Linked DNA regions of Homo sapiens: region 1 is linked to region 2. The links are contacts of gene promoters, found by promoter capture Hi-C in blood cells and fetal thymus (Javierre and others, 2016). All regions are on one chromosome and are shown on one strand. The core of a region is centred on a gene start or on the middle of the fragment in contact, and the rest is flanking DNA. Distances in the headings are between cores, read along the strand shown. Region 1 holds the start of LOC124902380 (a long non-coding RNA gene). Region 2 holds the start of ACBD7 (acyl-CoA binding domain containing 7).

The links. The method cuts DNA at HindIII sites, captures the fragments that hold promoters and counts their contacts. A CHiCAGO score of 5 or more calls a contact.
Region 1: a contact is called between a fragment that was not itself captured here and the fragment with the promoter of ACBD7 in region 2, in 2 of 17 cell types (neutrophils and M0 macrophages). The highest score is 5.5, in neutrophils.

Annotation. Positions count from the first base shown.
Region 1 is chr10:14,484,147-14,490,852 of GRCh38, forward strand. LOC124902380 (a long non-coding RNA gene) reads left to right here and starts at 3,124. Exons shown (of 2, transcript XR_007062062.1): 1 at 3,124-3,250; 2 at 3,560-4,329. The HindIII fragment of the contact is 499 bases long and covers 1,949-2,447 here.
Region 2 is chr10:15,084,201-15,091,299 of GRCh38, forward strand. ACBD7 (acyl-CoA binding domain containing 7) reads right to left here and starts at 4,576. Exons shown (of 4, transcript NM_001039844.3): 1 at 4,517-4,576. The coding sequence starts at 4,528. ACBD7-DCLRE1CP1 (ACBD7-DCLRE1CP1 readthrough) reads right to left here and starts at 4,576. Exons shown (of 8, transcript NR_144471.1): 1 at 4,517-4,576. RefSeq lists an enhancer at 1-301 and a silencer at 4,361-4,750. The HindIII fragment of the contact is 6,812 bases long and covers 3,009-7,099 here.

The sequences.
Region 1 (6,706 bases), core at 948-3,447, 600 kb before region 2:
CAAGTCCTAATGTCAATTGTGGGTGGGGAACCAAAAGAAGGTGGTACCCTGGCTAGCCTGTGTGTGCCACAGCAAATGGAAAATGGAACATAATTTATAACAGCTTAGCATCTGTGTTCACTTGGTGAACGTTGATTACACGAATTCGATGACTCCTGTCATACCCAACTAAAACAGAGTTGAGAAGCCAAGGCGTGGGGAATGCACTCTTGACACACAACATATAGGGTTGCTCCAAGAATGTCATTTTCTGCAAGCTCAGCTGCTGAAACTGCCTGCTGGATCCCCAAACCAGTCGAATCTAATGGCTACGAAACAACCTGCTGGGACTCTAAAAGTAGTTTTACCTGCCGCCACCACTTGCCTATCAGAAAGTTCCAGCTACGCAAAATTTTACTAGTGCCATTGAACTTCCTTGAAGGACAATACATAACGTTTATCTCTCTTTTACATATAAAACCTCTAACCTTCTCTTTGTTCTTTGGACATACCAAAGACCACCTGGTATGCATGTATGCCCCAAATTGCAATTTTTGCTTCCCCAATAAAATGTCCTAAATGTAGAGATTCATCTCTATACTTTATTTGACTTTGACCACTTCTTCCCTATTTCCTACCCCTAACCACATCCAGAAGATCTCAAGTAGATGGATGGGATGGGGATGAACCAGCTTTTGTGACCTTCCTGAGACCCCCATCCAGGAAGCAGCCGACTGCCCTCCAAGCTGCCTTGGGTAAAAGGGAGTTTGTCCCCAAAGGAACCCCTGCCTGCACCCTAGGCACACAAACACCAGCCACCAGTCTGTCCCCAGGCCACACGGTCCTACGGGAAGCCACCTGCAGCCTTCTCCTGCTCCCTCAGCAGACCCAGAACTGCCCTGTCATTCAGTAGGAGAATCTGTCTTTGTCCTGGTAGCTTGAATGGTGCCAACTCCATTTATGTTTTCTATTTGTATTTTCTTCGTGTTTTTCTTTTCCTTTCCTAACATATATGGGGTTCATTACATTTTTCATTGTTCTTTTCCATATTCATTTTGAAGTTCTACATCCTATTTCTATTTTACTAGAATTTTACTACATTTTTAGCTAACTTAATTCAACAAAATATTTTTGCATCATTAATAATTAAATAATACGTATAATCCCCCTTTCAACAAGTCTAACAAGATGAGGTGTTTGCAACCTTTTGTAGCCCCCTCCTTTTGATGGCTCCTTGAATTTAGTTCCAAGATTATAATTATTATTATAGGGCTTCTTTTATTTTGCACCGTATACCCTTTTTATCTTCTAATAGACTTTATGCTTTTTAGCAGTTTTAGGAACACAGTAAACTTGAGCAGAAAGCAGAGAAAGTTCCCATATACCCCCCCATCCCCACATATACACAGCTTTCTTCATCATCAACATCCTGCACCAAAATGGTACATTTGTTATCCTCAATGAACCTACGTTAATACATCATTATCATCCAAAGTCCATAGGTTACATTAGGGATCACTCTTGATGTTGTACATTCTATGACTTTTGACAAATATATCATGACATGTATCCACCCTTATAGCATCTTACAAAACAGTTTCGCTGCCCCCAAATCGTCTATGTTCCACCTATTTATCCTTCTTTTTCCCCAACCCCTGGCAACCGCTGATCTATTTACTATCTTCTATAGTTTTGCCTTTTCCTGAATGTCGTATAGATGGAATCACACAGTATGTATGTAGCCTTTTCAGATTGGCTTTTTCACTTAGTAATATACATTTGAGGTTCCACCATGCCTTTGTTGGCTTGATAGCACCTTTTCTTTTCATCACTGAATAATATCCCATCGTCTGGACATACCACGGTTTATCCATTCATCTATGGAAGAACATCCTGGTTGCTTGCAAATTTTGTCAATTATGAAGAAAGTTGCCAGAAACATCTGTGCATTGGTTTTTGTGTGGACATAAGCTTTCAATTCCTTTGGGTAAATACCAAGGAGCGTGAACGCTGGATCACATAGTAAGAGTATGTTTCATTTTGTAAGAAACTGCCAAACTGTCTTCCTAAGTGGTTGTGCCATTTTTGCATTCCTCCAGAATGAGTGAGAATTGCTGTTGTTCCAAATCTTCGCCAGCATTTGGTGTTAGTGTTTTGGATTCTGACCATTTCAATAGGTGCGTAATAGTATTTCATTTTTTGAATTTACAATTCCCTAATGACATATACTGCTTATTCTTTCAAATATTTTGAAAATGTGTTAAACCTCACAAACTATACTATCAACTACATTTAAATGTGTTAATGGTTTTATTGCTCACTATATAATGTAGCATTTATTTCCCTTTTAAAAGTTTATTCGTTTATTCCACAAACATCGACTGAGTGCCTGGTGCGTGCCCTGCGTGAAAATCTATAGTTACAAACTGACAAAACCTCTGTCTTCATGGAGCTTCCCTCCCCATAAAAGCTTTAAATTATTTTGTATTTGGCTAAAGTATACCCTTACATAATTTGTTTGTGGAATTTCTTTGTTTGGTTGGTTGTTGCTGTTGTTTTTCCCGAAATATTCTATTCTAGAAGGAAACATAGCTCATTCCCTGGACCCCTCTAGGTCTTCGCTCAAACATCACCTTCTCAGTGAGCACTACCACGGCCACATCACTTAAAATTGCATCCTCCTCCCCACAGTGCTCCCCGTTTCACCTCCTCCATAATATTTCTAACACACAACACATCATATTTCATGTAAGACATGAATGTTGACGCACACTATTACGTTTTATGTCAACAAAAGAGAAGGGCGGCTAACTGAGTCATGGCCTTGACATTAGGTCACACTGATGCGGGGCAGCTGAGCCCCATCATGGAGCTTAGCCCACAAGGCTTCTTGGCTTTGCCCAGGAAAGAATTCAAGGGCAAGCCAAAAGTAAAAGAAAACAGTCTTAGCGTTACAACTCTGTGACTGCCCCCGCAGAGCAGGGCTACCCAGTAGGCAGAGAGTAGCAGCTCAGGGCAGGGCAATTTTGCAGCCATATTTATACACACGTTTAGCTGCATGCAGATTAAGGAGTGGTTTATGCACGGGAGGGGTAGTAACTTTTGGATGGTTGGGTGCCGTGGAAAGAGGCAGTACCTCCCGAGTGTTGCCATGGCAACAGTAAATTGACCTGGTACACTGGTGGGTGGGTCTGATTGAATGCTGCTTTCATCCTGGCCCTGTTTCAGCTAGTCCTCAATCTGATCTGGTGTCCGAGCTCCACCTCTGGAGGTGAGTCCTGCCTCTTACCTCAACACCTCACCAATTTTTTTTTTTTTTACTAATTTGGAGATTTTAAGAGACTTCTCATGCCTTGAAAACCTTTGCATGTGATAGGCAGTCCTTTTGCAAACATAGCTCAGTAGTAAGACATGACAAAGCTTCACCCTCTTGCGGGTATCTTCTTTTCTTACAGTGTCAAAACATGACTGGTTGTTTATAAGGAAACACGGAATTGTGGTCACTCTCCCAAAGATGAATACTTGCTTTTGGGTTTCCATGCCTCTCCATGTACACAATAACCTTTTGTTTCAATTTCAGATCATCGTGGAATCTTTTTGAAGACATTTGAATGGCAAAATAAATCCTTTACGCATAGTACTGGCAAAGAGCCCAGCTGAGCTGAAGCAGGAACACTATGAGCAGCTTTTCTCAGGTTTGCAACTTCGGGGGAAATGGCAATTCCTTAAAGGCAGCTGCCCGGCCAGCAGCAATGATAAGATGCCAGCGATTATAGAATGCACCCCAGTTTCAAAGTTGCTAATGTGAAACATCATGCTTCTAAGAATCAACAAAATATAGTAATGTACTCACTTTGTCTATTATCTAGCTGCCTCTACTAGTTAGCAAGCTCTGTGATGATGACAGTAAACTTGGTGTATCTACTGATACCTCACCAGTGCCTATAACAGGACTTGGCCCATAGTACCGAGAACTGGAGAATGACCACAGTTCCATGTTTTCTTATAAACAACTAGTCAAGTTTTGACACTGTAAGAAAACAAGAGACCTCCAATCAAGTGAATGGACCCGCTTCTGGCTAAGGGAATCTCAGAAAAAGCTTAAAAACGAAGTTCCTGGCCATGACGGAAGAGGAGGTCAGACACATCTTGTCATACCCCTTCCCTTTTGTGGTTTAGCTACAACAACTGACCAGCATTCATGTTAAAATAGAAATCATCAGACTGATGGGATACGGATGCTTTGTGGCCATAAGATACCAAATTATGAACAGGACCTAAAGCCTTGCCAGGCAAGGGTTAAGCCACACACCCTACACTTTAAAAGAATAAACTATGTTCTAACGGCCACAAGGTTTCATTTTTCTCTAGCAGCTAAACAAACACTGGCCTTGACATAAGCAATATGAAAACAATTGCAGCCAGGTGCAGTGGCTCACACCTGTAATCCCAGCACTTTGGGAGGCAGAGGCGGGCAGATCGCCTGAGGTCAGGAGCTCGAGACCAGCCTGGTCAACATGGCAAAACCCCGTCTCTACTAAAAATACAAAAATTAGCCAGGCGTGGTGGCGGGCACCTGTAATCCCAGCTACCCAGGAGGCTGAGGCAGGAGAGTCGCTGGAACCCAGGAGGCAGAGGCTGCAGTGAGCCAAGATCGCGCCACTGCACTCCTGCCTGGGCAACAAGAGCGAGACTCCATCTAAAAAAAAAAAAATTTGCAGCTCGTGTACTTCCAGATGCTGATTAACTGACCCCCATCCCACCAGCCATCACTACAGCTTTGATTGGAGAAGAGACTGATTTCAGTAACTTTGTCCTGATCAGAGGCTGCTGACCGTAGACTGGTTGTGGCCAGTTTACAGAGGCTGTGCACTCAGTGCCAGAGGGAAGCTAGGGAGGAGGGAAGGAAGGAAGGAAAGAAGGGAGGGAGGGAGGGAGGGAGGGAAAGGTTTACTACCTATACACAGTAAGAAGTCCACTCACTGATGCAATTGGATCTTGGTGTCCCTGCTTCACCTTTTGATGTATAGGGTCTAACTTGAATACACTTAAATGTTAAGTCTCTGCCCCAAAGTGAACATGGAATACATGTAACGTGCATGTTTGCTTATCATGCATGTGCCCTCACTTTGTGATAATGCTTAGCTTTTCCTGTAATCTGTAGACCAACCCATTCAACATAAATTCCTGTTTCATTTCCTCCAAGTGCTTGCCTTGGGGTTGATAATATTATTTTTCAGTCTTATACGCTATTTCCACTGAATAGCATATTAGGCTGTGCTTCCCAGCCAGTCAAGATGACCACCTTGCAGGCTATAACCCTTTATAATAAATAAGATCTCCTTTCCAAATGTATAGATTGGGTGATTTTTAAGTTGACAGTATGCAATCGACTGTTTTTTAAGTGAATGCACAGATGAGACAGGATTTCACACCTGCCCTGTATAGCTGGAAAGCCAGGATCTCCCACTGCCTCTGTGGCACATGGCATTTCTTTCCAGATTGGAAGGCAATTGCATGTCATAGTCACTCTGCTTTGCTCCCTGACCCTTTGGCTGGCTGAAAGCCTCTTTTCCAGTAAAAGAGGGAACAGTGGCCTGACACATGTCATCCAAAAGATGATTGATGATTTTCTAGGCTGCTATGGGGTTTTTAGCAAATTCTTGTAGAATCAAGTGTGAAGGCCACAGAAGCTTCAGCCACAACACTCTTGTCTTTATAAATCAAAACAAGAGCAGAAGAAAGAATTAAAGGACAAAGGAAAAGGAAAGAGAAGGAGGGAAGGAAGGAAGGAAGGAAGGAGGGAAGGAGGGAGGGAGGGAGGGAAGGAAGGAAAAGGAAAGGAAAGGAAGAGGAAGGGAAGGAGGGAGGGAAGGAAAGGAAGGAAAGAAAGGAAAAGAAAGGAAAGGAAAGAAGAGTTACTACCTATACACAGTAAGAAGTACACTTGCTGATGCAATTGGATCTTGGTTTGATGGGTTCATGAGGAGGCAAAGATGTTAATTCCCGGGGCACTTGGATGTTTCAGAAGCCAAGGAAGTTCTCAAGCAACCCAGGAAGAGCTGCAACCCTCATCAGGAAAAATTATCCAGGCTCTCAACCTCCTGGGCTTCCGAGGCATATATCTGTGCCTGCCTGTCCCCAAATGGTATGCCTGGAGTGTGGGAAGACGGGCTTCAGAATTATTCAATTTAATAAACAGCTAAACAAAAAGGAAAAGGGAAAAAATATTTCTCACTGGCTGCACATTGCTTTAAATCCTTGTTCTTGTGGTTTATATTTTATGGAAATCTGTGTTTGGGAAAACACAAGGAGTGTCCTCCATGAACAGATACTGTTTTTCTTCTATACTCATGACACAAAAATTTGTTTCTACAGCCATCATGGGAGGTGCTCCTAGTACCTCCTTCAGATCTAATGCAGGTGTTTGAAGCCTAATGATGCAGGACATCTGTTTTAATTACCTTTACAGCTGTCCAAACTCACCTGTTATACAGTATGCACATTTCACTTTAATAATGATATGTATAATGTGCTATTTCACGTTAATTAGCACAACAGCTTTTCATTTCAATGCCAACAGAACCTTGAGCCTTTAAGGTCTTAATCTCAACTAACTCAATTCTAAGGTTATTTATGACTTTATTGCTTTGTGCTTTTGTTACTTTTTTCCACTCAAAATTCACAAATTAGCAAGCTAAAGAAAAAGTCTCTTCATTCAGGGATT
Region 2 (7,099 bases), core at 3,326-5,825:
AAATCAATAAATAAACAATCAATCAATAATCACCTTGGCAGCACCCACGGGGCCTCACGGACTGCTGGTGGGTGGCGTGAGCCTGGTCTGAGTCTATTAAGTACATCCTTGTTGGATGGTTAACGAGCGAGCAGACTTTAGGGGGATCAGAAAGTTATCATAGGTGAGATGCAGCTTTAAATATAGAGCCATGGACATTGAATTCCAAAGCATTCTTGTTACCAGTGGAGGGTGCCCAAGTTCTTGGCATTTTGAACAAAAAATTGGACAAAATGCACAAACAAAGCAAGGAAACAATGAAGCAACAAAAGCCGAGATTTACTGAAAGCGAAAGTACATTCCACAGGGTGGGAGCAGGCCGAGCACAGGGACTCAAGATCCCTGTTACAGAATTTTCTGTGCTTAAACGCCCTCCAGAGGCTTCCCATTGGTTACTTGGTGTGCATCCTATGTAAATGAAGTAGCGGCCTGCAATCAGAGGCTGAAGTTACAAAGTTACACTTCTATGCAAATAAAGACTTGGCTCACGATCAGTCTGACTGGTTGGGGAAAGCAACCAATCAGAGGCTGAAATGAAGTTACAAAGGTACATTCCTGTGCAAATGTCTGATTGGTTGCAGAAAGCAACCAGTCAGAGATACTTTCAATTTTCCATCTGCCACACAGAAAGTGGGGAGGAGGTTGCAAAGGGAGTAGCCTCCGGTCCTTTTATTACATAGGTGTGGAAAGTTGGGGTTTTGATTTAGTTCTACAAAGTCAGTGTGAATCGGCCTTAGGTTCCCTGCCTCCAGACCCTATTCTCCTGCCTCATCCTGAGAGAAAGGCATCACAGTTTTGCAGTATCCTGTTGCAGAGCTGGGCTTGCTGCCTTTGGCAGGAACTGCAGCCAATGCTGAGCTGATTTCTCCTGAGCGAGGGGTCCTCGGCATCCTGGTTGAATGTTTTGTGCATTATCTCCCGGTCACCCGAGCTTGGGATTCTGCAAGACAAACTGCCTTAAGGCTACTACAGCCCCTCCCTGGACTCTCTCCTGTTCAACTTTTGACACTAGGCTCCCTCACCCCACCTTTGGCGTAGAAGTTACGCCAGCATCACTCACACTGGGTACATCCTGGGTGCATCCTTCCGTGCTGACTAGGCGGGCTGCTGTGTAAATTACCTTTCACATTTCAGCCCCGCTGAAGACAGCCTCCGAGGGTGGCTCTCACCTCACCTGACTTTACTTTCTGCAATGAACATGGTCATCCCACATAGGGGGTTGGCAAGGTCTTCTTGAGCAATTCTTTCCCATTGAGCAACCCAATTAAGAAGATAAAAAATTCTCACACTCAAGGAACTGCAGGGTTCTTAGGTCACACAAATGTGGGCTGGGGGAAGAGGTTAGTCTTTTTTTGCCAGTTGTTAAAATCATCAGTACCCTAGACTTGAAAAGATACATATTCTAGAGGAAGAAGTCTGTTTTTTAGCTTCATCATCTAGGAAAGAAATTTGTCCATTTAGGATAAACATCAGCTCTCCTAAATGCTTTGGTGAGGATGGAAACATATTGTAATTTTCAGATAAAATCAGGAGGCTATAGCCGAATTAGAAATTCCATTTGTTTTGCTACTCCAATGACAGTCTGCCAGTATACTTATTCTTGTGTAAATAAATAGAAGACTGGGGACCCTGAACTAGTCACCTTTCCTCTCATTTCCACTCAGTGAGCATCTTGGCAGAACACTAGTACCAATATGATCCCCGCACATGCCAGTGAGGTAATAAAGACAGAAGAGATTTCAATATGTCAGCCAGTTATTAGTTGTCATTTTTAAAAGTTACTTTCAGCTGGGCGTGGTAGCTCACATCTGTAATCCCAGCACTTTGGGAGGCTGAGGCAGGCAGATCACTTGAGGTCAGGAGTTCAAGACCAGCCTGGCCAACATGGTGAAACCCTGTCTCTACTAAAAATACAAAAATTAGCCGGCCGTGGTGGCAGGCACCTGTAATTCCAGCTACTAGGAGGCTAAGGCAGGAGAATTGCTTGAATCTGGGAGGTGGAGGTTGCAGTGAGTCAAGATCACGCCATTGCACTCCAGCCTGGGCAACAGAGCAAGACACCATCTCAAAAAAAAAAAAAGTTACCTTCCCCCAATATTGTTGACACGCAAATGCATTATTAGTAGATAATATCATGGGTCGATGTTAATACTTCTTAGCATACTGCTTTTCTGTGATGTTCCTCAACTCTTAATTCCTCGTTGCAAGTATTTTAAAAGCAAACAACAACAGAAAACCAAAGTACTAAGCTAAAAAGGAAACTTTCAGATCTTTCAGGAAATTTTAGAAAGAACATTTTGATCATTTTGGAGAGAGTTCAGTATAAACACATAAGTCACGCACAAGAATATTTGAGCCAGGCAAGGTGGCTCATGCCTGTAATCCCAGCACTTTGGGAGGCCAAGGCGGGTGGATCGCTTGAGCTCAGGAGTTGGAGATCAGCCTGGGCAACACAGCAAAACCAAATGTCTACAAAAGATACAAAAAAGGAAAGCCTGGCATGGTGGCTCACACCTGTAATCCAAGCACTTTGGGAGGCTGAGGCGGGCAGATCACCTGAGGTCAGGAGTTTGAGACCACCCTGACCAACATGGAGAAACTCCATCTCTACTAAAAATACAAAATTAATTGGGTGTGGTGGCACATGCCTGTAATCCCAGCTACTCAGGAGGCTGAGGCAGGAGAATCGGTTGAACCCAGAAGGTGGAGGTTGCGGTGAGCCAAGATTGCGCCATTGCACTCCAGCCTGGGCAACAAGAGTGAAACTCCATCTCAAAAAAAAAAAAAAAAAATAGCCAGGTGTGGTGGCAGGTGCCTGTGGTCCAAGCTACTTGGGAGGCTGAAGTGGCAGGATCACTTGAGCCCAGGAGGTCAAGGCTGCAGTGAGCTGAGATCATGCCATTGCACTCCAGCCTGGGTGACAGAGTGAGACCCTGTCTCAAAACAAACAAACTAAATGTTCCACCACAAGCTTATCCTTATTGGACTTCTACCACATGCCAAACATTGTTTTAAATGCTTTATACATATAACTCATTTAATGTATCTCTCCTGCATTTTTAGATAAAGAAACTGAGGCACGGAGAGGTTAACTATGTCACAGGCTAAGTAGAAGTGAGGCACACATTTGAACCCAGATGGCCCTGAAGTATGTATTACAACTTTACGCAGGATAACGTCTTGCCTGACTGAAATGGTTAAAGAAGTGAGCCACGTTCTATGAAATTTTGTGCATGTAAAAGATTACATTTTAGAGGCCGGGCGTGGTGGCTCACGCCTGAAATCCCAGCACTTTGGGTGTCCAAGGCGGGTGGATCACTTGAGGTCAGGAGTTGGAGACCAGTCTGGCCAACACAGCGAAACCCCATCTCCACTAAAAATAGAGAAAAATAGCCAGGAGTGGCGGCGCACGCCTATAATCCCAGCTATTTGGGAGGCTGAGATAGGAGAATCACTTGAACTTGGGAGGCGGAGGTTGCGGTGAGCTGAGATTGCACCACTGCACTCCAGCCTGGGTGACAGAGTGAGACTCCATCTCAAACAGCCTGGGTGACAGAATGAGACTCCATCTTAAAAAAAAAAAAAAAAAATTACAAAAATCAGCCGGGCGTGGTGGCGTGCACCTGTAACCCCAGCTACTGCGGAGGCTGAGACATGAGAATCGCTTACACCTGGGAGGTGGAGGTTGCAGTGAGCAGAGGTTGCAGTGAGCAGAGATCGCACCAACTGCGCCTCAACCTGGGCAACAGAATGAGACTCTGTCTCAAAAAAGAAAAATAAAATTACATTTTAGAATATTTAATAATGAGAAAATGCTCATATTACTGTTTTACGTGTAGGAATAAAACTATATACACAATAACATCATAGGTATGTGTGTAGATATATGCCACACACATACACACATGGAAAATAACATACTAGGACATACTAGGAATTACCCTAGCATGTAGCAGTGATTATCACCTGGGTGAAGGAATTATCATTGGATTATTATCAGTAATTATTACTTTATATTTGTTGTCTTTTCCAAAGTTTTCCACCCTTAACAATTTTTTTCACATACCTATAAAACAGTATTTTTAAATTGGAGCCTCACAGATCTCTTCTGCTCAGTATGACACTAAGAGAGGTCCTGGAGGTCCCAACGAGCGAAGGGGCGGGAGCGGGGGATCTCGACTCCCTCTCGGAGACGGAGAGGAGGAGGCCCGCTCCGTGCTCCCCGGCGCTCCTGCCTTGCCTGCTTTTCCGCTCACCCGGCCCCTGGGGTCCGGAAGGGTTGCCCTGGGAGCCCTGGCTCGCCGTCAGCAGGCACAGGTGCGGTCTACACTGCCATCTGGGGCGCTGGGGAAGGAGTGGGCGTGTCCCCCGGGTCACCGCCGACCGCTCCCAGGGGCGCCAAGCCCACCCGGAGCCCCACTTAAGCACTCCCCTCGCGGAGCGCCCCTCCCGCGTGGCCTCCCCGCGCCCCGGGTACCTGCAGGGCCATGGTGGCGGCTGCCGCGTTGTTGCTGCTGCTGTTGTCGTCCGGTGCTCTGCCCCCTCTCGCACCCACCGCTTCTTAAACGGCCGCGTCTCCTCCGGCCGCTGCCATTGGCCGCGCTCCCGGCCCGGCCGCCTCCCATTGGTCGCGGGCGCGGGGGCGAGGCTGGGCGGTGAGCGGTACTGCACGCCGGGTTCCCCAGGCTGCAAATGGAAAGGCGAAGACAGGAGAATTTAAATGAGTTTCTCTCCGCTCTTGGCTCTCTCTTCTATTCTTTCTCAAGCGGTTCTTTGCAGGAAACCCAGAGAGGTCTCCGTAGGGCACAGGCCTCCCCTGGAATGCCTTCGAAAGAAAGAAAGAAGGAGAGAGACAGAGAGAGAGAGAGAGAGAGAAAAAATATATATATATATAGAGAGAGAGATATATATTTATCTAGAGAGACCCGCCCCAACTCTCTTAAAATACATATGTAATTTTTTCAATTTAAAAAAATTTATACATGTAAATATGTATTGGCCGGGCGCGGTGCCTCACGCCTGTAATCCCAACACTTTGGGAGGCTGAGGCCGGCAGATCACCTGAGGTCGGGAGTTCGAGACCAGCCTGACCAACATGGAGAAACCCTGTCTCTACTAAAAATACAAAATTAGCCGGGTGTGGTGGCGCATACCTGTAATCCCAGTTACTCGGGAGGCTGAGGCAGGAGAATCGCTTGAACCCGGGAGGTGGAGGCTGTGGTGAGCCAAGATTGCACCATTGCACTCCAGCCTGGGCAACAAGTGTGAAACTCCGTCTCAAAAAAAAAAAAGAATAAGTAAATATGTATTTAAAATTTTATAAATTAAAAATTTATATATATAAATTTTTTTCAGAGGTTGGGGTCTTCCTAGGTATATATATATTATATATTTTTTCTCTAAAAATTATATATAAATTTATATATATTTAAAATGTTAAAAATTAAAAATTTTATAAATTAAAAGTGCAAATTAAAAAATATATATATATGTGTTTTTTTTTTTTTTAAGAGAGGTGGTGGGGGGGGCGTCTCACTAGGTTGCCCAGGCTGGTCTCGAACTCCTGACCTCAAGCGATCCTCCCACCTCGGCTTCCCGAAGCACAGGATTCCTTCTTTATACATACTTCTCTCATGTCCATTATTCCTAGAAACGTGGATGATGGATGTGTCTCCTCCACGCTGCCTCCAGGCGCTGTTTATCATGAGAGAAAGTGGCCTGTGGTTTGCACCTCTTCTCTTTATAAAGCAAAACCACCTAAATTCTGGACACATGCTATAATCAGCTTAACTTGTTTTTAATTATGGTAAAGGCACAGGACTAAACGCCTATTCAATTTGACTCAGTTTTCTAGGGGAACAAACCCAATGTCACTCCAAGTCTGCAGACACACCGAATAGGATTACATTTCCAAAGGACTGGAACCGAATTGGGTGGTCACATGAGAAGCTAATTTCCGACACTTCGCATAAATAGTAGCATTGGTGGAGAAGGGTGACTGGGAGAAAAAAGAAACTCAATGTCAGCAAAGTGACTGAGCTTCAACGTACAACAATGCAACAAGAAACCTTTCAGCTTGCTTTTGCATAAAGCTACATTTTTAAAATATTTGCGTTTTCATGAAAATCTTTTTTTTTCTCCTCACAAATATTTTCCTGGTGAAATCAGTGCATTTCCAAGTGAAGGACCAAAAGCAAAATGTTAGAAAAACCTACTGGGCAGTTGTTTGTGTTTGAAGTCCTAGATGATGGGAAAGGTCCCGTGGGGGTACTGAGGCTCATGGCAGCTTCAGCACAGCCAGGCCTTTCTCTGTTAGCCTAGTCCTGGCTGCGGGCAGAACCCGGTCTGTGGTGTTTCAGCAGGAAATACTGCACTGAGTTCAGGTATCAGTCCATATCTTCAGCTGAGACATTCTGGAATTATCGTCACTGTAAGAATCCAGAAGAGGAGAGGGATGGACGCTACATTGTTCTCTGCTTTTTTCTCTAAATCCAGAATGTTCTTTTAAGACCTCTTTTGAAAGTATTTTCTTCTCCTGGGTTGCCATTCCCCATCTCATTGCCTAGCCATGTGTGTCTTGTCTTGAGATGCAAGAAGGGGCCAGGCGCGGTGGCTCACGCCTGTAATCCCAGCACTTTGGGAGGCCGAGGTGGGCAGATCACTTGAGGTCAGGAGTTCAAGACCAGCCTGGCCAACATGGCAAAAACCCTTCTTCTAAAAATACAAAAATTAGCTAGGCATGCTGGTGGGCACCTGTAATCCCAGCTACTTGAGAGGCTGAGGCAAGGAGAATTGCTTGAACCTGGGAGCCGGAGGCTGCAGTGCGCCAAGATCTTGCCACTGCACTCCAGCCTGGGCAACAGAGTGAGACTCTGTCTCAAAAATAAATAAGATAAAATAAAATAAAATAAAATAAAAACCATAGCATGAGTTTCAGAATAGGTTTTTCTTTTTCTATAAAAAAAATCCTTTGGGATTCTGATAGGGATTGCATTGAATCTTTAGTACTGTCACGATGAACATTTCTTAACCCTGGCAGTGCATTCAATTACCTGGGGAA